7 separate regions of the Homo sapiens genome follow, and all the other regions are linked to region 1. Evidence: promoter capture Hi-C in 16 types of primary human blood cells and fetal thymus (Javierre and others, 2016). All regions are on one chromosome and are shown on one strand. The core of a region is centred on a gene start or on the middle of the fragment in contact, and the rest is flanking DNA. Distances in the headings are between cores, read along the strand shown. Region 1 holds the start of SLAMF1 (signaling lymphocytic activation molecule family member 1). Region 2 overlaps COPA (coat protein complex I subunit alpha). Region 3 has its middle 32 kb from the start of ITLN2. Region 4 overlaps COPA (coat protein complex I subunit alpha). Region 5 overlaps COPA (coat protein complex I subunit alpha). Region 6 overlaps ITLN2 (intelectin 2). Region 7 overlaps NCSTN (nicastrin).

The links. Contacts are between HindIII fragments. The CHiCAGO score rates a contact against its expected background, and 5 or more counts as called.
Region 2: a fragment that was not itself captured here is called in contact with the fragment with the promoter of SLAMF1 in region 1 in 1 of 17 cell types (fetal thymus); the score reaches 5.5 in fetal thymus.
Region 3: a contact is called between a fragment that was not itself captured here and the fragment with the promoter of SLAMF1 in region 1, in 12 of 17 cell types (fetal thymus, naive B cells, total B cells and 9 more). The highest score is 11.3, in fetal thymus.
Region 4: a contact is called between a fragment that was not itself captured here and the fragment with the promoter of SLAMF1 in region 1, in 4 of 17 cell types (total CD4 T cells, naive CD8 T cells, total B cells and 1 more). The highest score is 7.5, in total CD4 T cells.
Region 5: a fragment that was not itself captured here is called in contact with the fragment with the promoter of SLAMF1 in region 1 in 7 of 17 cell types (naive CD8 T cells, fetal thymus, naive B cells and 4 more); the score reaches 7.9 in naive CD8 T cells.
Region 6: a contact is called between a fragment that was not itself captured here and the fragment with the promoter of SLAMF1 in region 1, in 9 of 17 cell types (fetal thymus, naive CD8 T cells, naive B cells and 6 more). The highest score is 7.9, in fetal thymus.
Region 7: a fragment that was not itself captured here is called in contact with the fragment with the promoter of SLAMF1 in region 1 in 9 of 17 cell types (total CD4 T cells, naive B cells, fetal thymus and 6 more); the score reaches 11.0 in total CD4 T cells.

The regions. Positions count from the first base shown.
Region 1 is chr1:160,645,404-160,648,887 of GRCh38, forward strand. SLAMF1 (signaling lymphocytic activation molecule family member 1) reads right to left here and starts at 1,641. Exons shown (of 7, transcript NM_003037.5): 1 at 1,467-1,641. The coding sequence starts at 1,542. It overlaps LOC107985220 (a long non-coding RNA gene), which reads left to right and starts at 1,606. Exons shown (of 2, transcript XR_001738266.2): 1 at 1,606-1,932; 2 at 2,070-3,484. RefSeq lists enhancers at 1,473-1,682, 1,723-1,772. The HindIII fragment of the contact is 11,196 bases long and covers 1,613-3,484 here.
Region 2 is chr1:160,289,657-160,293,140 of GRCh38, forward strand. COPA (coat protein complex I subunit alpha) reads right to left here. Exons shown (of 33, transcript NM_004371.4): 28 at 2,828-2,964; 29 at 2,356-2,542; 30 at 2,163-2,273; 31 at 1,679-1,840; 32 at 836-1,030; 33 at 1-560. The coding sequence ends at 501. It overlaps LOC107985219 (a long non-coding RNA gene), which reads left to right. Exons shown (of 3, transcript XR_001738265.2): 3 at 1,601-3,170. Among named protein-coding and RNA genes, the nearest start is that of PEX19, 6.3 kb to the left of the region's middle. The HindIII fragment of the contact is 1,121 bases long and covers 1,374-2,494 here.
Region 3 is chr1:160,985,369-160,988,852 of GRCh38, forward strand. No RefSeq gene overlaps it. Among named protein-coding and RNA genes, the nearest start is that of ITLN2, 32 kb to the left of the region's middle. RefSeq lists a silencer at 2,031-2,325. The HindIII fragment of the contact is 816 bases long and covers 1,577-2,392 here.
Region 4 is chr1:160,316,287-160,319,770 of GRCh38, forward strand. All of the region lies in intron 8 of COPA (coat protein complex I subunit alpha), which reads right to left. It also overlaps the pseudogene SUMO1P3. Among named protein-coding and RNA genes, the nearest start is that of COPA, 25 kb to the right of the region's middle. The HindIII fragment of the contact is 2,829 bases long and covers 526-3,354 here.
Region 5 is chr1:160,333,261-160,336,744 of GRCh38, forward strand. It overlaps COPA (coat protein complex I subunit alpha), which reads right to left. Exons shown (of 33, transcript NM_004371.4): 4 at 1,982-2,062; 5 at 343-419. Among named protein-coding and RNA genes, the nearest start is that of COPA, 8.2 kb to the right of the region's middle. The HindIII fragment of the contact is 997 bases long and covers 1,049-2,045 here.
Region 6 is chr1:160,947,163-160,950,646 of GRCh38, forward strand. ITLN2 (intelectin 2) reads right to left here. Exons shown (of 8, transcript NM_080878.3): 5 at 3,391-3,484; 6 at 2,884-3,004; 7 at 767-870. It overlaps LOC101928372 (a long non-coding RNA gene), which reads left to right. Exons shown (of 6, transcript NR_110695.1): 6 at 1,489-2,760. Among named protein-coding and RNA genes, the nearest start is that of ITLN2, 5.9 kb to the right of the region's middle. The HindIII fragment of the contact is 5,820 bases long and covers 1-3,484 here.
Region 7 is chr1:160,350,503-160,353,986 of GRCh38, forward strand. NCSTN (nicastrin) reads left to right here. Exons shown (of 17, transcript NM_015331.3): 6 at 720-870; 7 at 1,194-1,303; 8 at 1,552-1,704; 9 at 2,385-2,489; 10 at 2,658-2,735. Among named protein-coding and RNA genes, the nearest start is that of NCSTN, 8.9 kb to the left of the region's middle. The HindIII fragment of the contact is 235 bases long and covers 1,638-1,872 here.

The sequences.
Region 1 (3,484 bases), core at 391-2,890:
TTGGATAGACTTGCCTTGTGGGGCTGGGTTGCTTCTCCCTGACCGGCGACTTCCAAAGCCTCAATAAGACGAGCTATTGGTCAGCAGTGCCTAAGATGCTATGGGCCAGGCTGGCCAAGAGGCTAGCAAGCACAGAGATGGAAAAGTCCAGTTCACAGTTCAGCACCATCACTCCATCACACCTTACAGTCACCAAGAGGTGCTCCAGAAATGGTGCAGTCACAAATTGGTTGCAACAACGGAGGCTTGGCTTTCCCTGTGACCACTTAAAGTGGCTCGATTTGGTTTTCTGAGCCCCGAGCTCAGTTCTTCCTCCCCTAGACCTTGGGAAGTACGAGCCATGGATCTGCAGATTCCAAAAGAAAGTGGGCTGAGCAAGCCCTGTTCGTCTGGCTGTCTGGTAAAAGACACATCCATTGTGCAGCACCCCCACATCCCTGGCATATCACGGTGCTTTTCCTGGAAAAGTCCATATTGGATTTGCGGTCTTGAAAACCCCAAGCTTAAAACACCCTGGGCCTCAGGATTTCCCCCCGTGTCCGTAATGCCACCTCTTCTACTCCAGGCTACCTCCCACAGTCTAAACAAATAAGCAGAAGGAGATTCTCACCCCACTCACACAGGCAGTCCAAAGTCCACTTCTTGCTTGGCTTTTTCTTTCTCAAATACCTTTTCTCATAGCCCTGATACTTCTAAACAGAAAGCAATAGCCTGCCTTGGGAAGAAGATAGACAGAAAGACAGGAACAGAGTCCAGATCCAAAGGTAGCTCTTGTCTGGCCTTCCTGCTGGAGCTACTCTCTGAGGGTTCCCAATTTGCATTTCCCACATACTGTAACCAGCCCTAGCCTTCAGAAATCCCAACTTCTTCCCTCTTGCTTTCTTGGACCTTCTCTTCCAAGAAAATACACACCAGTATGACCGCACTGTGGCCACTGCTGGTTCTCAGCCAAAAGCCTGGAGTTTTCACTTCTACTCTCTCTTCCCACTCTAGCCAATGCTTTCTGTTGACCCATGCTCCTGGTTTGTCAGCCTGCATGTGCACAGATTCCCTCCCAGGGCAGGGATGTAGGGCAAATCTTCTCCCAGAGCTCAGTCCATCCAGCTCAGTCTCTCTAGGCTGGGTCTTTGCCAGAAGATGCCCATGTAAAACCAACCACTCAAGCAAGACTTCTACCAGGGCCTGTCACCCTAAGACTGGTCAGAAAAGTGACTGGAGCCTTTGGCTTAGAGCCCCTCATTTCCTTGGAAACTGGGGTTGGTGGGGCTGAGTCTTGGAAACCCAAGGGCCCAGGAACTTATAATGTTCCTTCCTCTTTGAAAGAGGCAGTTGAAACTGACAGCCAGTCCCTAAGGAAGAGTGACCAAACACAATACCCAGCCCTGCACCTTCTCTCCATCCACGAAGATACGCTGATTCCTGGCAGCTAACATGGGACTCAAACCATCAGGCAGATGAACACTCACCTGTTCCGTAGCTTGCCCCAAAAGCCAGGGAGAGAAACAGCACGAAGGTCAAGGAGAGGAGCCCCTTGGGATCCATCAGCCAATGAGGAGAAGGAAGGGATCCTGGCCGGAGCCTGGCAGCTGCTCACAGATGCCAGGCAGAAGCAAGCTTCGTGTCATGCAGCAGAGGCTGTCTGATTTATGTATCAGGAACCAGCAGGTTCCTGAACCCGCTTCCTGTATCACTGGGACTTTTTCTGCTTGTGTCTTGAGGATTGCTCATCTCCCATGAGGCTTTAAATCACTTTTTTGTTCTCAAGAAGCAGGCTTCTCAAGAAGCCAGGCACTTAGCCTATGGGAGCCAGGAAAGGGGGTGTGTAGTCACCTCGGCCAAAACCCGGCTTTGGGCAGAAACATGCGCCCCAGCTTCTTTCCTTAGCTGTCTCCAGGAACCGGATGTTGCAGATTCTCTGAGCAGTTCTCTCCGGTAAGTCTTCTTGGATTGCAAAGAAAAGATGTTTCATTGGATCACTCCTCAAATTTGGCAGTTCACAGCTGAACTTAGATAACTGCATTTTGATGAGCTAATAGACCTCTTACTTCTGTTTTATTTCATAATTTCAGATGACACCTCAACATGCAGTCTGGTGCAGGTGCCACTGTCACACAGAGATGGGAAGGGCATGTGCGGGTCACTTGGAAGAAACCCTGTGACCCCGATGAGTGCAATGTGGTATAATTTAGTAGCCCATGCTCCTAGTTTGTCTTCTTGCATGTGTGTGGATTCCCTCCCAGGCAGGGATGTAGGACAAATCTATCCCAGAGCTCCATCCTTCCAGCTCAGTCTCCTTGTTGTGTGTGTGTTTTCTCCTCTAATTTTTAACGTCTGTGGGTACATAGTAGATATACATATATGTGTGTGTGTGTGTGTGTGTGTGTGTGTGTGTGTGTGTGTGTGTATGTATATATATATGTATGGGGTATGCATATATTTGTATGGGGTATATGAGATATGTTGATAGAGGCATGCAATATGTAATAATCACACAGGGTAAATGGGATATCCATCACCTCAAATATTTATCCTTTGTGTTACAAACAGTGCAATTATATTTTTATTTTTAAATGTGCAATTAAATTATTATTGACTATAGTCACACTGTTGTATTATCAAATACTAGTTCTTATTCATTCTTTCTATTTTTTTGTACCCATTAACCATCCCCACTTCTTCCCCAACCCCCACTACCCTTCAGCCTCTGGTAACCATCCTTCTACTCTCTATGCCCACAAGTTCAATTGTTTTAATTTTTACCTCTCACAAGCAAGTGAGAACGTGCAAAGTTTGTCTGTCTGTGCCTGGCTTATTTCACGTAACATAATGATCTTCAATTCCATCCATGTCATTGTGAATGACAGGATCTAATTCTTTTTTAGCTGAATAGTACTTCATTGTGTATATGTACCACATTTTCTTTATCCACTCATCGGTGATAGACGCTTAGGTCGCTTCCAACCTTGGCTATTGTGAATAGTGCTGTAATAAACATGGGAGTACAGATATCTCTTCAATATACTGATTTCTTTTCTTTTAGGTGTATACCTACCAGTGAGATTGTGGATCATATGGTAGCTCTATTTTTAGTTTTTTGAGGAACCTTCAAACCATTCTCCACAGTGGTTGTACTAACTTATATTCCCAACAACAGTGTACAAGGGTACTTTTTCTCCACATCCTTGTCAGCATTTGTTATTACCTGTCTTTTGGATAAAAGCCATTTTAATTTAATTGGGGCTGTGTTGTATTCTGGGAGTTGCCTTTATTTTGGAGTTTGTGTCTAACTTTTCATTGAGGAGAAGGAACTAGTATTGGCAGAAGGAGGATCCCGCCCTTTTTCATGAGTTAAACTATAAGAATGGGATACTGGAAGTGTAACCAATGCTCACAGGGAGACTTGAAAGAGTAGGGAAGTGTTTTTAGAGTCCATTGTAACAGGTCATAGGCACTCTCTGATGGGCCTCCCCATGGGGATCAGGTA
Region 2 (3,484 bases), core at 684-3,183, 360 kb before region 1:
CTCAGTTGAATGCAACCTCCACCTCCTAGGTTCAAGCGATTCTCATGCCTCAGCCTCCTGAGCAGCTGGGACTATAGGCGCATGCTACCATGCCAGGCTAATTTTTATATTTTTATTAGAGACGGGGTGTTGCCATGTTGGCCAGGCAGGTCTCGAACTCCTGGCCTCAGATGATCTGCCCACCGTAGCCTCCCAAAGTGCTGGGATTACAGGTATGAGCCACTCCACCCAGCCCAGAGTTTTCATTTGTTCCTTAAAATAATTAAGCTGGAAAGGCAAGGACAATTATGAGCACAACTGTAGTCAAGTTGAGAAGACCTCAAAAAAGTCAAGTTTAGACCTTCGGATTTTCCATAGAAGAGAAAAAGATACTAGGTTTTAGGGTACAGAGAGCCAGATCTGAAGAGTAGCTGCAGGGGGAAGGTGCTGTTAGAAGGAGGATATAGACACATTCTCTGGGGGGAACATATGGTGACTGACCCATGCACACAAAGGGGGCCTTAGCGAAACTGCAGAGGACTGATCCTTAAACCAATCACATCTTTGCCAATCTCTGTCACCTGTGGAAAAACAAACAAAGGAACAAGTTAGAGATTTGTAAGATTGAGAACCCTAGAAAATGTATTCCCTATACCCCTCAATGGGCACAGTAGACAGGTATTGGGGTGTTCATCACTGACTGGCCAAGAGCAGTGGGGAGATGCTCTAGCTTTCTCCAGTGTCACTGCCTCAGGGAGCAGGGGACAAGCACAAGAAGAAAAAAAGGACCACCATGTTTCTTTCTTTTTCCCCTTCGCTCAATATCCTAGATATATTTATTGAGGACAGTACTTACTGTGGTGACCCTGCAGATTTGACCTTTGAACTCAGGGGAATAGCAGGCCCCACTGAGTGGACACTTTTCTACTGGCTTTCCACGGTAGATGGGCCGATATGATGCAGCACAAATGTCAAAGGGGTTGTGCATGTCATAATTGAGCTGGTAGGCATCTGTGGGATTCTTCTCACAGGCAGACAGGATTTTTCGGGTCTAGGGGAAGGAAGGAGTATTTAGGAGGACAGAAGGCTGCAGACAACACCTCAAAGGATCCCAACACCATGGTTTGGTAGTTCCGTTGATGTGAGACACAACTGTACTGCGTGAAAAGAGGTCCCAACCTCTGTACTGGATGTATGTGAAGGGTTAACAATCACCATTCCTATTGTATCAAACTTTCCCCTTCTCAATACAAAAGTGGCTCCATAATCTAGACCCACATTCCTCCACCAACTCTAGAGATTATCAGGGTCAGGTCCTAGAAAGGGTTAAAACAGACTTCCATCACCCAAAAAGAATGCATTTGGAGGACACAAGTAATGAGATGTGTATGTGAAGCTTTGTGGTGGTTGTGATGGGATATCTGGAGCTTAAGGACAGGACTGGGGTTACTTTCAGCTGCAGTGGAGCTATTCTAGGTTGCACGGCACTCTTAGACGAGTGCCATGTCTCAATAAACTATTAATTTTCCAGGAACAAAGGAAACACCAAGTCAGGAAGTAAACAGAGGGTAGCATTCTGTTGGCTTTTTGTTGAATGTTGTTATTTATTGCTTTGTTTCAGAGGCAAGGACCTTGGTCTGCTCCCTCCATGTAAGAGCTGATCTGGCTTCCCTATGGTCACTGAAGGAGTTCCATCTACCTGTTGGGCCACCTCAGGCTTGGGCCCGAGTTCTAGTAGGCGCCGAGCAAAGGTGGCAGCTGTCTTGAAGTTCTTGAGCTTGAAGAACAGATTGAGGGCTGTACGCAGCACCAGGATCATGTGCACAGGCTGCAGGTTTGAGTGGGTGAAATAGGCTGCCATCTGGTGGACAGAAAAAGGAACACATGCCAGGTTGATGCTACACCTGGTAGAAGTCATTTCTAAGCTGCTACACATGCATAAAAAACACAACACAAAATAGGATGATGGGCTATAAAGCTGAGAGGTCTTCTACCTCCTAGGTATGGAGGACTGGTGAGATGAGGAAGTAGGATGAAGAAATGTATCCTCCCCTCATAGAAATGAAGGGCCTAAATTTCTCTTCATCCCCACTCAGATCTGGGTTTGAAATTAAAGAATTCAAACCTAGTGAAGGGTGAAGGGAAGGACGTCTCTGTTGTGCTCAGGGTCCTATAGATCTTACCTCACAGATGCGCTTCTGCTGTTCTAGAGTCTCTTTGGGCAGCTTCTTCCTTTCTGTCTCCACGGACAAACCCACAATGTACTCACGGCAAATGGTGATGAGCTGCTGGGCCTGTAGAGGGGGCAGAAGGTCAGGATACAGAGACAAGAATGTGGAAGTGCCCAGAACTGGGACAGCGGCTAGACCCTCCTACCTCTGCAATCTCTTGTTTATTGTCCACAACAAGAAGTGGCACACTGAGAAGGATGGAACGGAATTTTTCCACAGCCTCCTCAAATTTGCCAACTGTGGTGAGCTGGTAGCACAGCTGCAACCGTTGGATGAGGTCATTAAGCTTCAGGCCCACAGCTGGTACACCATTCTTCAGCCCTGCATCCTTCCTGGAAAGGGAAAAGTAGGAAGAAGACAGGATAGTCAGTAGGCAACTAGGACCCAATTTCCTTTTCTGGCAAACATCCTCATAGCTACCCTCCTGTCTCCTGTTAAAGTAGCTGGGGAAGAGGATGACAGCAGGTGTAAACCAACCCCATAGAGTAACAAACCAAAGATCTTTTTCTACTGGGAAACCCTAGCTCTGAGAGAATTCTGACTATGTCACTGAGGCTACCATCTGAAATATCGACCACAACTTGGAACAGATGAAAGCAAAGAGAAAAGGGCCTTACCAGTTGCGATTAGGATAGCCATACATGGAGGGTAGGCAGGGCAGAGCCTGATAGGTTGTGCGGCCTCGGGCGTATGTCTGTAGGAACAGTTGCTTGTAGGGGCCAAACTGGATTACCCCTACTTGGTCATGAAGGAGCTGGAACAGAAGGAAAGAAACAAGGATTTTGGCCCTGCTGCATAAAAAGCTACTTTTCCTTGGGCAAGGTAATTAATTTCTCTGTTCACGTTTCCTCATCAGTAAAATACACTTAATTGTAAGACCTACCTCATTTAATGATACCTATTAAAGTATTTAGGATAGTGCCTGGCACACAGTGAACATTAAATAAACGTTAGCAGTTATTGCAGTGTTATCATTATTGTTGTTATTATAACAATACTGGCTTAGTGTTCAAAACAGACCTCTGCTTGGAAAGGGGTACTTATCTCACTGATATGAGCCAGAAAGCAAGCTATAAATGGGTGGAAGATGACTGAAGGATATGCCCTAAGAGATTACTAGGCCAAGTGGAAGGCAGATAACAGGAAGGCAAGTGTACTTAACAAAGATAAAGAGTTTTCATGAAAAATATACACCTTTCCCCTTATGGGTAGGATAATTTCCCTTGATTAAAATGAGTCAACCATCTCCCGGGGACCCTGGGCTAGGCACACTC
Region 3 (3,484 bases), core at 735-3,234, 340 kb after region 1:
CACACCTGTAATCCAGCACTTTGAGAGGCCAAGGCGGGTGGATCACCTGAGGTCAAGAGTTCGAGACCAGCCTGGCTAACATGGTGAAACCCCGTTTCTACTAAAAATACAAAAAATTAGCCAGGCGTGGTGGTGCACGCTTGTAGTCCCAGGTACTTGGGAGGCTGATGCAGGAGAACTGCTTGAACCCAGGAGGCAGAGGTTGCAGCAAGCCAAGATCACGCCATTGCACTCCAGCTTGGGCAACAAGAGCAAAACTCTGTCTCTTTTTATTATTACTTTTTTAATAATAATAATAATAAAAGTGTTATGCGTGTCCACATAAGAGACCACCTGAACAGGCTTAGTGTGAGCAACATGGCTGTTTATTCACTTGTGTGTGAGTGGGCTGAGTCCGAGAAAGGGGTCAGCAAAAGGTGGTGGGATTATCATTGGTTCTTATAGGTTTGGGATAGGCGGTGTAGTCAGGAGCAATTTTTTACAGGCAGGGGATGGATATTACAAAGTACATTCTCAAGGGTGGGGAGGATGTTACAAAGTACATTCACAAGGGCAGGGAGGGTGTATTGTCACAAGGGCAGGGAGGATGTATTGTCACAAGGGTGGGGAGGAATGTTACAAAGTACATTCACAAGGACAGGAGTATCACAAAGTACATTATCACAAGGGTGGGGGAATGTCACCGTGGCTTGACCATAGTGCAGCCAGCTCAGAGGACCTTACAAAAAGTTTCATACTTGCACGTGTTTTCTTGTGGCAAAAATATAAAACATTTAATTTCTGGGATTCTTTTTTTTTTTTTTTTTTTTTTGAGATGTAATCTCACTCTGTTGCCCAAGCTGGAATGCAATGGCGAGGACTCAGCTCACTGCAAACTCCGCCTCCCAGATTCAAGCAATTCTCCTGCCTCACCCTCCAGAGTAGCTGGGATTACAGGCGCCCACCACCACGCCTGGCTAATTTTTGTATTTTTAGTAGAGACAGGGTTTCACCATATTGGCCAGGCTGGTCTCGAACTCCTGACCTTGTGATTTGCCTGTCTCGGCCTCCCAAAGTGCTGGAATTGCAGGGTGAGCCACCACGCCTGGCTGGGATCATCTTTTTTTCTACAGAGAGAAAATCAATTGTATCTCTACCAGGCAAACAATTTGCATTTGTATTAATATGAACAGGGATCATTTGTATCACTGTCAGGCTTCTACATATTTAACTTTTCTTTCTAGAGTTGCAAAACAGTACAAGACAAGGAAGGATACTGACCTGTAGAGAATCAGAAAACCCCCAGAAGCATCCTGTCCTCTAGTCTAGACAAATCCTAGTAATCCACTGGAAGGATGCCTGTATTTGTCCATTTCAGAAACTGTCACAATTTTTCCTTAACTAACAGCAGGAATTTTGATAGCCAAAAGTCATATTGTTTATTATCACTGTGGGAGCCAAGGCCTTTGGCTCCCTGAAGTTTGCTGAAAATCACTGACGCAAGGCAGATTAATAGGAAAAAAGGCATACAAACTTATTTAATATGTATACATAGAAGCCTTCAGAATGAAGACCCAACCTCCCAGTGAGGTGCAAAAGCTTATACGCCATCATGAGGTTACAGAAAGAATGAGTTTGGATCCTGCGGGAGAAAAGGAATTCTGTTGATGGGCAATAAATGATTACTAAAGAGAATGATTTGATCAGGAAACAAATTAACTTGTAAATAGTTTTCTTTGGAATTTAGATGACCATGAGAAGCAGGCATTAACTCATGAAAAGGTCTGTTCAGGTGTGGTTACATTTTTGGTCTTACAGGAGGAAAAGAAACCTACTGTTCTCCTTGGAGGGTCTGGATCTTAGGCAAATAAAGGAACTTCAGCTTTTTGGGAGAGACCGTGTGGAGCGGGGAAGGTCAGAGAGATCTTCAGGTTGCTTCTTCGGTTCAGTACTATATTTGGGGGTATCGATTTATAAACCCCAACATTACCTAATGTATTGTTCCCGATGAGCCTCCCTCCAATCCCTTTTCCCCTGTATCCCAATGGCCGGAAACTTGTGGAAATTCTTCCCAAGGCCTCTAAAAGCAGCACTTGCTTTTGCCTGGTTGCTAATGCAAGTTGTGAATTGCGCACGTGAATCACTATCACTGTCCATCCACCACTCTCTTGCTCTAAGGCATTGAAACGGCACTGCAGAGAGACGCCAGGTAACAAAGACTCTCCTTAACCAAGCTCTAGCATGGCTTCTAGCAACTTAAGGCCTTGTCCCTAGGAGGACCTCAGCCCCCCGCTTAAAATGCCTGCCTGAAAAAGCTCATCGCTGTCAGAAAAATTTACTGTGCATCCCAGCCCAAACCTAGCAATAGACACAGGCCCCTGAACTTCATCTTAGTGCAATTACTTAGAAAGAAAGCTTGCAATTAAAACATCTTTCTCTGCCTCTTTGAGATGTAAATCTTCTACCCAGAGCTATTTTCACTGGGACCTGAGAGTTTCTTTGAAATGCAAACATTTGAGGAAATAAATCTTGCTCCAGCTCCCAACCAGGTGGGTGCCTTGCTCTAACTTGCACTACTAGCTCCTGTCGTAAAAATAGGTGCTTATTTCTCTTCTGGACAAGAGCCAATTCACAAATCCAGATTGTCTAGTCACATGGAGCAATTCTCCTTAATATCTTCATGCCTATCCCTTAGCACATCCCAGCCTTCAAAAGGCCTCCTGCATTTTTTTTTTTTTTAAGGAAGTTAAGTTCAGTTCACCTTGGGCCCTCTTCCCTACTGCAATAGTTACTACTTAAAAAAACCTATCCTAGGCCGGGTGCAGTGGCTCACGCCTGTAATCCCAACACTTTGGGAGGCCGAGGTGGGCAGATCACCTGGGGTCAAAAGTTCAAAACCAGCCTGACCAACATGGAGAAACGCTGTCTCCACTAAAAATACAAAAAAATTAGCCGGGCGTGGTGGTGCATGCCTGTAATCCCAGCTATTCAGGAGGCTGAGGCAGGAGAATCGCTTGAACCCCGGACACGGAGGTTGCGGTGAGCCAAGATCGCGCCATTACCCTCCAGCCTGGGCGACAAGAGTGAAACTCCATCTCAAATAAATAAATAAATACCTATCCTTACTTCTTGTCTAAACTATTGTCTGGCTTTGTTTAGCTTTGACACAGGCTTTATAAGCCCACAAGTAACTTTAAGGCAAAGCCTTATAAATTCATCCAAGGCACTGACATTGAAGAATGTCTAACATTTCTGTGATATGCTTCAATCTCACTTCCAGCCTGTTCCAAACCTTCTTTTTAGTTTTCTACTTCCAGAGACTTTTTCCTTTGGTTAATCACCTTGTAATTCTTAGGTCTGATTCTCGAGCTAGCACATTTCAGCCCCTACAAATAAATGCCTTCTCCCAAAATGTGCAGCTCTTTTGCCATGCTACATTCTATTTGTCTTTCTAGTACTATTTTAATAAGTATCATAGCTCAAGCATGATCAACCCTCAGCTTCT
Region 4 (3,484 bases), core at 690-3,189, 330 kb before region 1:
GGTGGAGGTTGCAGTGAGCTGAGATTGTACCATTGCACTCCAGCCTGGGTGACAGAGCAAGACCCTGTCTTGAAAAAAAAAGAAGTCAGAGGAAAAAATAAAAAGAATGAAAAGGAACAAAGACTACCTACAAGACTACAAGATACAGAAAATTGCCTCAAAAGACCAAATTTAAGAACAATTGGCTGGCGTGGTGGCTCATGCCTGTAATCATAGCACTTTGGGAGGCTGAGGTGGGCGGATCATCTAAGGTCAGGAGTTTGCAACCACCCTAACCAACATGGAGAAACCCTGTCTCTACTAAAAATACAAAATTAGCCGGGTGTGGTGGTGCATGCCTATAATCCCAGCTACTCGGGAGGCTGAGGGAGGAGAATCACTTGAACTCGGGAGGCGGAGGTCATGGTGAGCTGAGATCGCACCATTGCACTCCAGCCTGGCCAACAAGAGCAAAATTCTGTCTCAAAAAAAAAAAAAAAGAATGATTGGTTTTCAAGAGGGAGCTAAGCAAGAGCAAGCGTAGAAAGCTTATTCAAAGAAATAATTACAGAAAATTTTCCAAAACTTGAGGAAGAAATATCCAGGTACAGGAAGGCCTGAGAACACCAAACAGGTCCAACCCAAGTAAGACTACCCTAAGGCATATAAAAGTCAAACTCTCAAAAGTCAAGGACAAAGAAAGGATCCTAAAATACACAACAGAAAAGAAGCAAAGAACACACAAAGGAGCTCCAATTTGTCTGGCAATAGATGTTTCAATGCAAACCATACAGGCCAAGAGAGAGAGGAATGACATTTTCCAAGTGCTCAAAGAAAAAACCTGACATCTAAGAATACTGTACCCAGCAAGATTATTTTATTTTCCAAATATGAAGGATAGTATTTCCCATACAAACAAAAGGTGAGAATTTACCACCACCAGATCCATCTTACAGTAAGTGTTAAAAGTAGTTCTTCGATCTGAAAGAAAAAAACACTAATGTGGTAGCGGAAGTTACTGCAGCTGCGGTGTTGTGCTGTGGGGAAGGGAGAAGGATTTGTAAACCCCGGAGTGAGGTTCTGCTTACCCGAGGCCGCTGCTGTGCGGAGACCCCCGGGTGAAGCCACTGTCATCATGTCTGACCAGGAGGCAAAACCTTCAACTGAGGACTTGGGGGATAAGAAGGAAGGTGAATATATTAAACTCAAAGTCATTGGACAGGATAGCAGTGAGATTCACTTCAAAGTGAAAATGACAACACATCTCAAGAAACTCAAAGAATCATACTGTCAAAGACAGGGCGTTCCAATGAATTCATTCAGGTTTCTCTTTGAGGGTCAGAGAATTGCTGATAATCATACTCCAAAAGAACTGGGAATGGAGGAAGAAGATGTGATTGAAGTTTATCAGGAACAAATGGGGGGTCATTCAACAGTTTAGATATTCTTTTTATTTTTTTTCTTTTCCCTCAATCCTTTCTCATTTTTAAAAATAGTTCTTTTGTAATGTGGTGTTAAAAACGGAATTGAAAACTGGCACCCCATCTCTTTGAAACATCTGGTAATCTGAATTCTAGTGCTCATTATTCATTATTGTTTATTTTCATTGTGCTGATTTTTGGTGATCAAGCCTCAGTCCCCTTCATATTACCCTCTCCTTTTTAAAAATTACGTGTGCACAGAGAGCCCACCTTTTTCAGGACATTGCATTTTCAGGCTTGTGGTGATAAATAAGATTGACCAATGCAAGCGTTCATAATAACTTGCGAATTGGCCCTGATGTTCTAGCATGTGATTACTTCACTCCTGGACTGTGACTTTCAGTGGGAGATGGAAGTGTTTCAGAGAACTGAAACTGTGGAAAAATGACCTTTCCTTAACTTCAAGCTACTCTTAAATTTGAGGGTCTGGACCAAAAGAAGAGGAATATCGGGTTGAAGTCAAGATAACTGATAAGGAGAGAGTAATGACTAACTCCAAAGATGGCTTCATTGAAGAAAAGGCATTTTAAGATTTTTTAAAAATCTTGTCAGAAGATCCCAGAAAAGTTCTAATTTTCATTAGCAATTAATAAAGCTATACATGCAGAAATGAATACAACAGAACACTGCTCTTTTTGATTTTATTTGTACTTTTTGGCCTGGGATATGGGTTTTAAATGGACATTGTCTGTACCAGCTTCATTAAAATAAACAATATTTGTAAAAAAAAAAAAAAAAAAAAAAACAAAAAAAAAAAAAAAACACTAATGTGCAAAAAGAAAACTTTTCAAGATATAAAACCCAAGATGTAAAATTAAGTTCATAGACAAACCCAGAAGACTATATTACTATAATGGTGGTACACAATCCACTTATAACTTTACTATGAAGCCCAAAAGACAAATATATCAAAAGCAATAATAGCTATAGCAACATGTTAAAGAGATAGTCAAAAAGGCAGGAACAGAAATGGAGTTAAATGTATAATTTCTGAGTGTGTTTTAGCCTTTGTTTTTGTTCTTGTGTTTGTGATATAAAATAAGCTGTCATCTCTTTAAAATACCTTATTCTATCTATAAGATTTTTTTTTGTGAATCTCATGGTAATTACAGCACAAAAACTATTAATATATACTCACTAAAAATAAAAAGCATCAAATTAAGACATATTACCAAAGAAAATCACTTAACCACAAAAGAAGACAGTAAGAAAAGGAAGAGAGAAGCCTCAAAAAAAAACAAAACAAAACCAGAAAACAAGCAAAAAACAGCAGTAATAAGTCCTTGCTTATCAATAATATCACTGAATGTAAATGCTCTCAATTCTTCAATTAAAAGGCATAGAGTGGCTAAACGGATAAAGAGAGAAGACCTAACTATATGCTGCCCTCAAGAAACCCATTTACCTATACAGACACACATAGACTGAAAACGAAGGAGTGGGAGATATTCCATGAAACTGGAAACCAGAAAAGAGCAGGCGTAGCTATACTTACATGAGATAAAACAGACTACCAAACCTAAGATTGTAAAAAGAGACAAAGAAGGTCACTATATAATGATAAAGGGGTCAATTCAGCAAGAGGAAATAACAATTATAAGTATCTGTGCACCCAACACCAAAGCTCCCAAGTATATAAAGCAAACACTAATAGATCCAAAAGGAGAGGTAGACTACAATATGATAATAGTAGGAGAGCTAATACCCCACTCTCAAAAACAGACAGATCATCCATACAGTAAATCAACAAAGAAACAGTGGAGTTAAACTACATACTAGATCTAATAGGCCTAACTGCAATTTACAGAACATTTCACCCAACGGCTACAGAATATTCTTTTCATCAGCACATGGAACACTCTCCAGAATAAACTATACTTTAGGCCACAAAACAAGCTTGAAAAAATTGTAAAAAATAGAAATTATATTAAGTATCTTTTCTGAACACAATAGAACTAGAAATCAATAACAAGAGGAACCTCAGAAAATACAAACACATGTAAGTTAAACAACATGTTCCTGAA
Region 5 (3,484 bases), core at 297-2,796, 310 kb before region 1:
AAAGTTCTATGTAAAGCTCCAGCTCCAAACACAAAATAAGACAAAGGTCTAGACCTTGACTCAGGTTTTATGGGAAAATAATTGAAAACCAGCTAAAAGTTCTTGTTCTAAAAGGCTATATGACTTCTCTTCCTGGTAAGAAATTATTGGAAGTCCAGATTCATATATGGGATTGCCTCTACATTTATTATTTTGCACTTAAAAGCATCCTACAAATACAATCAGTAATTAATCAGCCGACATAGTCCATTTGAGAAGGGAGAAGATTGTTCTAAGAGAAGCTCATTATGAAAAACTAGGAAAAATGAAGACTCTTTTCGAGCCCTCTGCCTCCTGCTTTACCAAACACAGGTTCTAGATTGCCAGTTCCACACTCGGATGGTCTGATCATCGGAGGCACTCAGAATCCAGGGATATTCCTGAAAGATATTCCAGACAAAGGCTTTAAACATTAAACAAATCTGTTCTATCAGGTTCTTGTAATCATTTTTCTCTAAAGAACTGCATTGCTTAACGGCTCAGCTACATTAGCAAAGGGGCTGCTGCTTTTGCTATCAGGTTAGCTGTCTCCTTTTCTCTACCACTCTAACAGCTTTTCTCAACTTCGGCACTTTCACCTATAAGACTTAAGAATGGAAGCCAGTTAGAGGCACAATACATTCTCAGAGGCAGATAGTGAAACATACATTTACATTTACTTCTATATGTGTGTGTGTGTGTGTGTGTATTTATATACAGTTAATCATGTAAATTAAGATCCTGTGAAAGACTCTTCTACCTTTAACTCTAGGATGGGAATATTATTTTATTGTCTGACTTCTTTCTGTCCAGTTTCAAAAAATTCCCAGGTCTCAGCAAGCAAAGCAGAAAGTAACATGTAAAGACAATTTAGCCTTTTTGGAGTCTATAAGATTGTTGAGAAAAGGAAGTATTTCTTATTTACACTTCCTTCTTACTACACTTGCTAAGCTTTGTGTTAAACACTGAAAATAGATGGTATTTCTATTTTCAATAGAGATAGTATCTCTACCTTCAGTATTTAGCACAAAGCTTAGCAAGTATAAGGCACACACATATTTAGTGAGCTGGTAAAATGAAAGAAAATAAGGTCTTTCGTAACTTTCCAGGTAGATGGCAACTTGTTCTAGGCAAGGGTCTTCAGGAAGTCCTTTATGGCAATGACAAATAATTCCTACTTAATAAGTTATCTTATTGAGTGGTTATCATTCTCAAATGTTTAAGCTGTAATTTTCTCATTCTCTCCTATCCTAGAATTTTTTAATTAAAAAAAGAAATAATATATACTCAACCAGTAAATTGTTTATTTCATCATATTCTTTCTAACTTAATTAAAGAGACTTAATTTACTGGCAATCAAAGAATAGTGTAAGTTAATGCTAATACACAGAACTATAAGGAGATCCTGTCAGGGTGCAACTGGATTCAGAGGTTGGGAGTCTGTAATCTGCACCTCACTATCTAAATCTACTATGTTACCTGGCAGATCAAAGAAAGTAGTAAGCCTGGCTAAGGGAACAGCCTCCACCAGACCCAAAAATCCTAGGATAGAGGGGTATGATTGTTAATACTTCGAAACGTTTGTTAGCTGATCAAAATGGCATCTTAGTCTGACCTTCTTCCAGACACACCTACTACTTACTAATAATACCCTACATGGGATTAGCTGGCAAACTTTTGTTTTTTGGTTCAGCAAATCTGAAATCAAATCCCTACTTTTCCCTACAGAGAAACAATGACTTCCCATAGAATCCACTGAATCCAATAAAATTAAATTCAGTATAATCCCAAGTGCTTCCTTTTGCAGAAAGAAAAAAAGCAGAAAGGACAATACCACACAGATTGTAGAAGAGCCACTCCAAAAACAACTCTATTATTAAAACATGGGTTCTCAAGGATCAAATAAAGATTACTATGGGGAAACTAAGAATGCTCCAAAACTAGCGCCACCATGACTACTTACATGATGAAAAAACGTGGTGCGAATATAATCTAAGTGCCCAAGCAATGTGAAAAGACAGCGCCGAAGCTTGTAATTCCAAACCTGCAAAGACAAATCAAACTAAGAAACAGAAATAGTTATTGAGCCTCTAAAAGGCTCAGAGAAATTGATATCTTTACAGAGATAGAAATATGTATATAAATATAGATTTATATACATTATTTGTATTTTGGCATTTCTAAATAGGTAGGAACCTTGGTAGAAAGCCTTGTTTAAGATTTGAGGGGAAAAGAACAAGAATGAAAATATAGGTCAGATAAACAACATGGGGTTGGGGTAGGATTAGGGAAAAGCTAAAGATAAAATTATTGAAGTTTTTCAGGCTGGGCGTGGTCACTCATGCCTGTAATCCCAGCACTTTGGGAGGTCGAGGCGGGTGGATCACAAGGTCAGGAGATCGAGACCATCCTGGCTAACATAGTGAAACCCTGTCTCTACTAAAAATACAAAAAATTAGCCAGGCGTGGTGGCATGTGCCTGTAGTCCCAGCTACTCGGGAGGCTGAGGCAGGAGAATCGCTTGAACTCAGGATACAAGAGGTTGCAGTGAGCCGAAATCATGCCATTGTACTCCAGCCTGGGTAACAGAGCGAGACTCAGTCTCAAAAAAAAAAAAAAAAAAAAAAAGTTTTTCTTTCTTTGGGAAGAAGCCATCTGCATTTAATAGCAGGAGATATTTATCCAGGGCTTGATTTGCAACTCTTTTTTCTACTGCAAAATTGTGCTCTTGGCTTGAATATAGACCCCTTAAGTGCTTTACCCATCACTTTTAAAAAGTATGACAGGCTGGGCACGATGGCTCATACCTGTAATCCCAGCACTTTGGGAGGTCAAGGCAGGGGGATCACCTGAGGTCAGGAGTTTGGGACCGGCCTGGCCAACATGGGGAAACCCTGTCTCTACAAAAATACAAAAAAAAATTAGCCGGATGTGATCCCAGCTACTTGGGAGGCTGCGGCAGCAGGATCACTTGAACCTGGGAGGCGGCGTTTGCAGTGAGTTGAGATCGCTCCACTGCACTCCAGCCTGGGCGACAGAGAGAGGCTCGGTCTCAAAAAAAAAAAAAAAAGTAGGACAGATAGATACCATGACTCCAAGGGAAACAATAATATAGGGCATCAGCTTCTTAGGCTCCTAACTTGATGGCAAACAACGCCCATACATGTGTGGTCTGTACTCACCTGTCAAGCAAACAGACCTTAACTTATTACATGGAAAATACTACATTGCTCAGTAAGCCTGAGCTAAGCAGAGAAACAATATCATATTCAGATGTGAAGTTGAGTCAACTACCAAAGTACTAGGCATCAATGAACACAACTGAAGACATGAAAACCAGGATCATAAATATAAAATAGCTTATCTTCCTCATTCAGAAAATCCCCTAAAATGTACAAAAATAAGAGACCAGATGCATTTTTCTTCTTATTTAATTTTTTTAAATTTCTTTTTAATATTTGTTTAT
Region 6 (3,484 bases), core at 382-2,881, 300 kb after region 1:
GCAAAGGAATCTGTATCATGAATAAGTTCAAGGAAAGGTACTGTGCCCGGATGTGCACATAGGCTAGATTTATGTTTCTCTTTACCCAAACATCTCAGTGTAGCAAAGAGTATCAGAGCAGTATTGCTGCCAGCATATCTCGCCTCCAGCCACAGGGCGGTTTTCTCCTATCTCAGAATAGAATGAATGGGAGTGGTCAGCTTTACACCCAGACATTCCATTCCCAGGGATGAGCAGGAGACAGAAGCCTTCCTCTTACCTCAACTGCAAAGAAGCCTTCCTCTTTCACTACTCCTCCTCAGCACAGACCCTTTACGGGTGTCAGGCTGGGGGATGGTAAGGTCTTTCCTCTCCCATGAGGCCATATCTCAGGCTGTCTCAGTGGGGGAAAACCTTGGACAATACCCAGGCTTTCTTGGGCAGAGGTCCCTGCGGCTTTCCGCAGTGCATTGTGTCCCTGGTTTATCAAGAATGGAGAATGGCGATGACTTTTACCAAGCATACTGCCTGCAAACATATTGTTAACAAGGCACATCCTGCACAGCCCTAAATCCATTAAACTTTGATTCATTACAGCACATGTTTCTGTGAGCACAGAGTTGGGGCTAAAGTTACAGGTTAACAGCATCTCAAAGCAGAAACAATTTTTCTTAGTACAGATTAAAATGGAGTTTCTTATGTCTTCCTTTTCTACATAGACACAGTAACAATCTGATCTCTCTTTCTTTTCCCCACACGTGGGCCATTGATCTCCCCAAAAACTCACATGCTCAGTGTTACAGCCAGTAACTTTTATCCCAGCACAAAGGGCGTTGGCTGCTCTCTCGTTATTAAACACCCGGAACTGAACGAATCCTGCAACAAATTCCCCTGAAAAAGAAGAGGTGAAGAAACAGCCAAGTAGTCAAAGGATGAACTAGAAGCAGCATCCCATTGGCCAGTCCAGGGATTCCCTAAGCCAAAAGCTGAGGCTACAGCCAAACACCCCAGGCTGTAGGGGTGCAGCCCAGTACCTTTATGGCCAGTGGCTGGTGCACGTCAGTCCTAAACTTGTCCCCAAGGAAACCTCTGTTCATAGGGGGCAAGAGGACAAAGGCTGGGACTCACAAAAGGACCCAGGTCTGCTTACAGCTTACAGGAGAAACTAGACTCTACAAAAAGATTACCAAAAAGATCTGAGAAGGCCCAGCAGGAATAAGCAATGATCAGATGTGGCTGCCTATTGCTGTTTACACACTTCTCATCCAATTACCATGGGTTAGTTTCCCTGACCATCACCTGCTTTCATCAAAATATCAAAGGCAAACAGTGATGTCTTTGATTTTTTTATCCACAACTTAACTTCTGTGCTCTTATTATACTGAAAACTGTCTTTTGTAAGATAATTAAAGTTATCCTTCATAACAAAAGTAAATCTCTCTCACCACTCTGCTAGTGGTTCTTTCCTGTGAACCTCAGTGTGCACTTTTTTTTTTTTTTTTTTGACAGGGTTTCGCTCTTGTTGCCCAGGCTGGAGTGCAGTGGTGTGAACTCAGCTCACCGCAACCTCCGCCTCCCAGGTTCAAGCGATTCTCCTGCCTCAGCCTCCCGAGGAGCTGGGATTACAGGCATGCGCCATCATGCCCAGCTAATGTTTTGTATGCACCTTTTCTTAACTATTATTGAAGGGGTGGCCTGCCCCTCCACACCTGTGGGTGTTCCTCGTTGGGTGGAACGAGAGACTGAGAAAAGAAAGAGACACAGCGACAAAGTATAGAGAAAGAAAAGTGGGCCCAGGGGACTGGCGCTCAGCATAAGGAGGACCCGCACCAGCACCAGTCTCTGAGTTCCCTCAGTATTTATTGATCATTATCTCTACCATCTCAGAGAGGGGGACGTGGCAGGACAATAGGGTAATAGTGGGGAGAGGGTCAGCAGGAAAACATGTGAACAAATGTCTGTGTCATAAACAAGGTTAAGAAAAGGTGCTGTGCTTTTGACGTGCACATACATAAACATCTCGGTGCATTAAAAAGCAGTATTGCCGCCAGCATGTCTCACCTCCAGCCCTAAGGTGGTTTTCTCCTATCTCAGTAAATAGAACATACAATCGGGTTTTACACCAAAACATTCCATTGCCCAGGGATAAGCAGAAGACAGATGCCTTCCTCTTATCTCAACTGCAAAGAGGCCTTCCTCTTTTACTAATCCTCCTCAGCACAGACCCTTTGTGGGTGTCGGGCTGGGGGACAGTCAGGTCTTTCCCTTCCCACGAGGCCATATCTCAGGCTATCACATGGGGAGAAACCTTGGACAATACCTGGCTTTCCTAGACAGAGGTCCCTGCGGCCTTCCGCAGTGTATTGTGTCCCTGGGTACTTGAGATTAGAGAGTGGTGATGACCTTTAACAAGCATGCTGCCTTCAAGCACTTGTTTAACAAAGCACATCCTGCACAGCCCTAAATCCATTAAACCGTGAGTCAACACAGCACATGTCTCTGTGAGCACAGGGTTGGGGGTAGGGTTACAGATTAACAGCATCTCAAGGCAGAAGAATTTTTCTCAGCACAGACCAAAATGGAGTCTCTTATGTCTACTTCTTTCTACATAGACACAGTAACAGTCTGATCTCTTTTTCTTTTCCCCACAATTATAAGAGTATACAAGGTGGTGATGAAGAAACCTGGGATTACGTGCTGTGAAATGGGGATAACAGCAATTCTAACTTCATAGTTTTCTCATGGTAATTAAATGACACAAAATCATGTTAAGTTCCAAGACAAGAGTCTGGTGCATTTTAAGTGCTCAGTAAATACTAGCAATTATTAATTGTTGTTATTTGCCACCATTCTCCAAGAGTACAAGAAAATATTTATGACTGGACTTAGGGAGCAAACACTCACGTTGACCATACGGTGAGTAATAAGATGCAGTCTTCTTAGCATCACCAAAGTCATAGACCACAGGTATGGCTGGGCCATTGTCATTCCAACATTTCCCTGATCTGTATTTCACTGGGTATTTCTGCAGAGACCCAGAAGAAAGGTTTTGTGAGGACAGTAGAGATGCTGCCACAGTGTGGGGGGAGGAGGGGTTTCAAATTAACTGCCATTACCCAAAACCAATCCTCATAATAGTGACTGCTTTTCCCCATAGCTGTGTCTCCCCAACAGCCCCAAACCCCTTGTCCCTGTCTCTTTCTCCCCATGCTTTCCTGTCCCACAGGCCTCTTCCTTGCTGGCTTAGAGTTTCTGAGAGGCCAGACATGAGTTCACAGTGAATCAAAGGAAGGAGAAACAGCCAACCACTCAGTAGTGATGTGGAACCACAGGACAGATCTGCCCCCTACCCTAGACACTTCGATCTCTGTTCACCAAAGAAAGTGCCCCCCAGCCAGCAGCCCTGTGTACCTGGTAGATGCCAAACAGATTATGTCCCAGTCTCTGGAGGAAGCCAGTGTTGGTGCGGTACCTCAGCAGGGCGCTGTTTCTCCAATGCTGCATG
Region 7 (3,484 bases), core at 505-3,004, 290 kb before region 1:
GGTGGCTCATTCTTCTGGTACACCTGCTGAAAGACGGTTGCTCCAAAAAGAACCAAGACGTTAGTTCTTCTCACATTCTTTCCCCACATTTTGCTCCTACCTGATATTACAGCATTAAAGCCTTTTAGACTAGAAGAAAATATAAAGAATATCTGAAAGAGTAATATGAAACAAGGTACACAGCCCAGGTTAAGAACCACTAGTATCGTTAAAAAAAAAAGCATTGGATTAGAGATTGAGAAATTCAATTTGGTAATTTCTGAGCTTCTTTTTAGCTCTAATATGCCTTAATTCTGGTCTAGTATTTCCATTTTGACTCATAGAGTAGTTAAGAGATTTGTCCAAAGTTGTATGGTGAGTTGATCTCCAAGCTGTGTCATATCTGATTTCCTATCTCTAGTTTGGTGCTCTTTGTATCAGACCACACTGAATCTTTTCAGTGGCTGAAGCTTCAAATTGGGCCAGGCCATCTGGAATGGGATAGTTTCATCTCCAGCTAAACCACTGAGTCTGCAACCCTTTGTAACTCTTGATGAGTTTTTTTCTTTGACCTTATAGATCCTATGGTGGTTCTAGGATAACTATAGCTCAGGGATAAATGTCTCCGAAAAGGGTGTGGCTCCATCCCAAAAGGATGGAACTGGGCCCTCCTCCTTCTGGGATGTAAGGGAGGGCCTCCACAAACTAGCTGTCTCAGTGGGGTCCATCTCCCCTTTCAGTGCTATCAAGATCACAACCTGAGTCAGAATGGCTCAGCACCAACCTTCCCACTATGTGCCATGCAGCTCTTTTCACACATGCATGCTGTCATCAGCACTGCCACCTGCATGCGGCGCAGCTCCATCCAAAGCACCTTCAGCATCAACCCAGGTAGGGCAGATCCGAACCATGAGGGTAATGGAATAAGGGGCAGAGGGAGAGTGGAACCAGGCCAGGGAATGTTAGAGAGACTGTAATAGGGAAGGAGTAGACACCATGAAGGAGCTCTGCATGGGAGAACTAGAAACAATTCTGAAAAATTTAGGCAGCTTGTTCCTAAAGTGGATAGTGGCAGAGAAGCCAACCTCGGACTGTTGGAAGTAGAGAAAACGACTTAGAGTCCGTGGGGCACTGGTCAGAGATTTCCAATGTTGCCTTTATAGCTACCTTCTCCTTTAGCCTTGTTGATCTCTCATTGTTTGTGTCCTGCTTAGAAATCGTCTGTGACCCCCTGTCTGATTACAATGTGTGGAGCATGCTAAAGCCTATAAATACAACTGGGACATTAAAGCCTGACGACAGGGTTGTGGTTGCTGCCACCCGGGTGAGTGTTGGCTTCTGATCAGGATGGGCAGGGCTGGCACAAAAAGAGCTGGTAGGCCCCGCTCTAGCATATCAGATTTCAAAGTTGCTAAATTGGGAAGCCTCAAATGGGGAGGAATCTGGGCTGTGGGACTCCTGGGTTGTCTCCATTGCCACAGGACAGGTATATTCTCTTGACTGGAGCAAGAAAGGAGGTTTGGGGCCAGTTTTAAAGTATATATCCCCTGACTTTTCTTCTGTTGTACCTAGCTGGATAGTCGTTCCTTTTTCTGGAATGTGGCCCCAGGGGCTGAAAGCGCAGTGGCTTCCTTTGTCACCCAGCTGGCTGCTGCTGAAGCTTTGCAAAAGGCACCTGATGTGACCACCCTGCCCCGCAATGTCATGTTTGTCTTCTTTCAAGGGGTAAGGGCTCTTTGGCTGGGGTGCAATGGCAGGGAAGAAAGAGGATAGTAAAGATGAGAGTGGCTACTGGTTGGAGAAGACCTCAGCACTTGACCTAAGTTGTTAACCAGCACAGAGCTTCTGGATGTGTCTACATGTGTCTCCCCTTTAGATTCCTCCATTTTAGGAAGCTTAGATTCCTTCTTTTTAGGAAGCTTTTACACCCTGAATTGGTATGTAACCAGCCCCCTCTTTCCCCCACTGATAAGATATATTGGAGGCGGCCTTTTACTTTTATTCTCTGGACTCCTTTACTGCTATCTCCATCCAGGAGCCGTTAGGCTCCTGACTCTCATCACTAGGACCACAGCAGAATAAGGGAACAGCATCTGTGGCTGAGTCACTGGAGGTGGGGGACCGTTAAGAATCAGACACATAATAGCTGATGTTCATCTTAGACCTTTACTAAGGCTACTTTCCCCATTTCTGGGCTTCAGAAGTCTTGTAATACATATGAGGGATAGTCACAGCTGGGAGGTGGGGCCAAGAGAAGCCGAAAGTCACATGACTGTAAGCTGACTAGCAGTTGAGGTGACCTGAGATAGTCGTCTTACCTACAGCTTTGATGATCTGGCCGCCTTCGAGGCTCTCCTAACCCTTTGGAATCTCTGTTCCCCCTCCCACCTACCTCCATCTCTCAGGAAACTTTTGACTACATTGGCAGCTCGAGGATGGTCTACGATATGGAGAAGGGCAAGTTTCCCGTGCAGTTAGAGAATGTTGACTCATTTGTGGAGCTGGGACAGGTATGTGGCATGTCCCCCAGCCCCTTCCTTTTTAATTAAATCTTCCTCCTTTGTTGTTCTGCGGTCTTAACTGCAGGAACCACCGCCTCTTCCCTTGACTTCTATCCCCTAGGCATGGCCCAGAACAGGAGACTGATTCTAAGTGTTGTTTCTTCATCCTCCCCCCAGGTGGCCTTAAGAACTTCATTAGAGCTTTGGATGCACACAGATCCTGTTTCTCAGAAAAATGAGTCTGTACGGAACCAGGTAACCTGAGCATCTCCCCTCATTTCCTATTCCTACAGCTCAGAATCCAGACCCCAACCCCTGCCCTGTTTCCACCAACCCCCAGGGCCTGTGAGACAGGGTAAGAGACAGGATTGGATTGGGTGTTGGCCAAAGGATGAACACCACAGCTGTTGTTGCTGCTGGGAAGAATCAGGAACTCAGTGACATTCCATTGGTTCCCTGGACTGGGTAGTTCTCTGATCATTTGTTGCCTAGCAGACTACCACTGCCCATTAAGGATAGGTGAGTGACTAGCTCCCTTCTTGCCTTGCTGCCCCATGGATCCAATTGTCAAGGCTGCTCTACCCAAGTCCTGGCTGTGTCACACTCGCTGCCCAACTTGTCCTCCACTTTCCTCATTGCTTGTTCAAAACCTTCCCTTCCCTCTAGGTCCACCTTTAGGCCTGCTTTTTTCCAGGTGGTCCTCTTTCTGCAATTCCAGCCTTCAGCATCATCCCTGCTCTGGACTCCTGTAGCATTTAAAGAATTGGTTATCTGTTTGGCATTCAGCACGCAGTTTTCTATTATTATTTGCTCCCTTCAATTCTGCACAATAAATAATAAGTGAAGCATCCACTGAGGATAAAGCAGAGTCTTGAAGACAGTAGAATTTACTTATAAATATGAAAAAAAAGGTCTCTTCTTTATGCCCCAATTTTCTAACTCTAAAAAGAATGGTGGAAGCTACAGGAAATTCAGAGAGCCTTGGTCCCAAAAGGCTTGAGGGA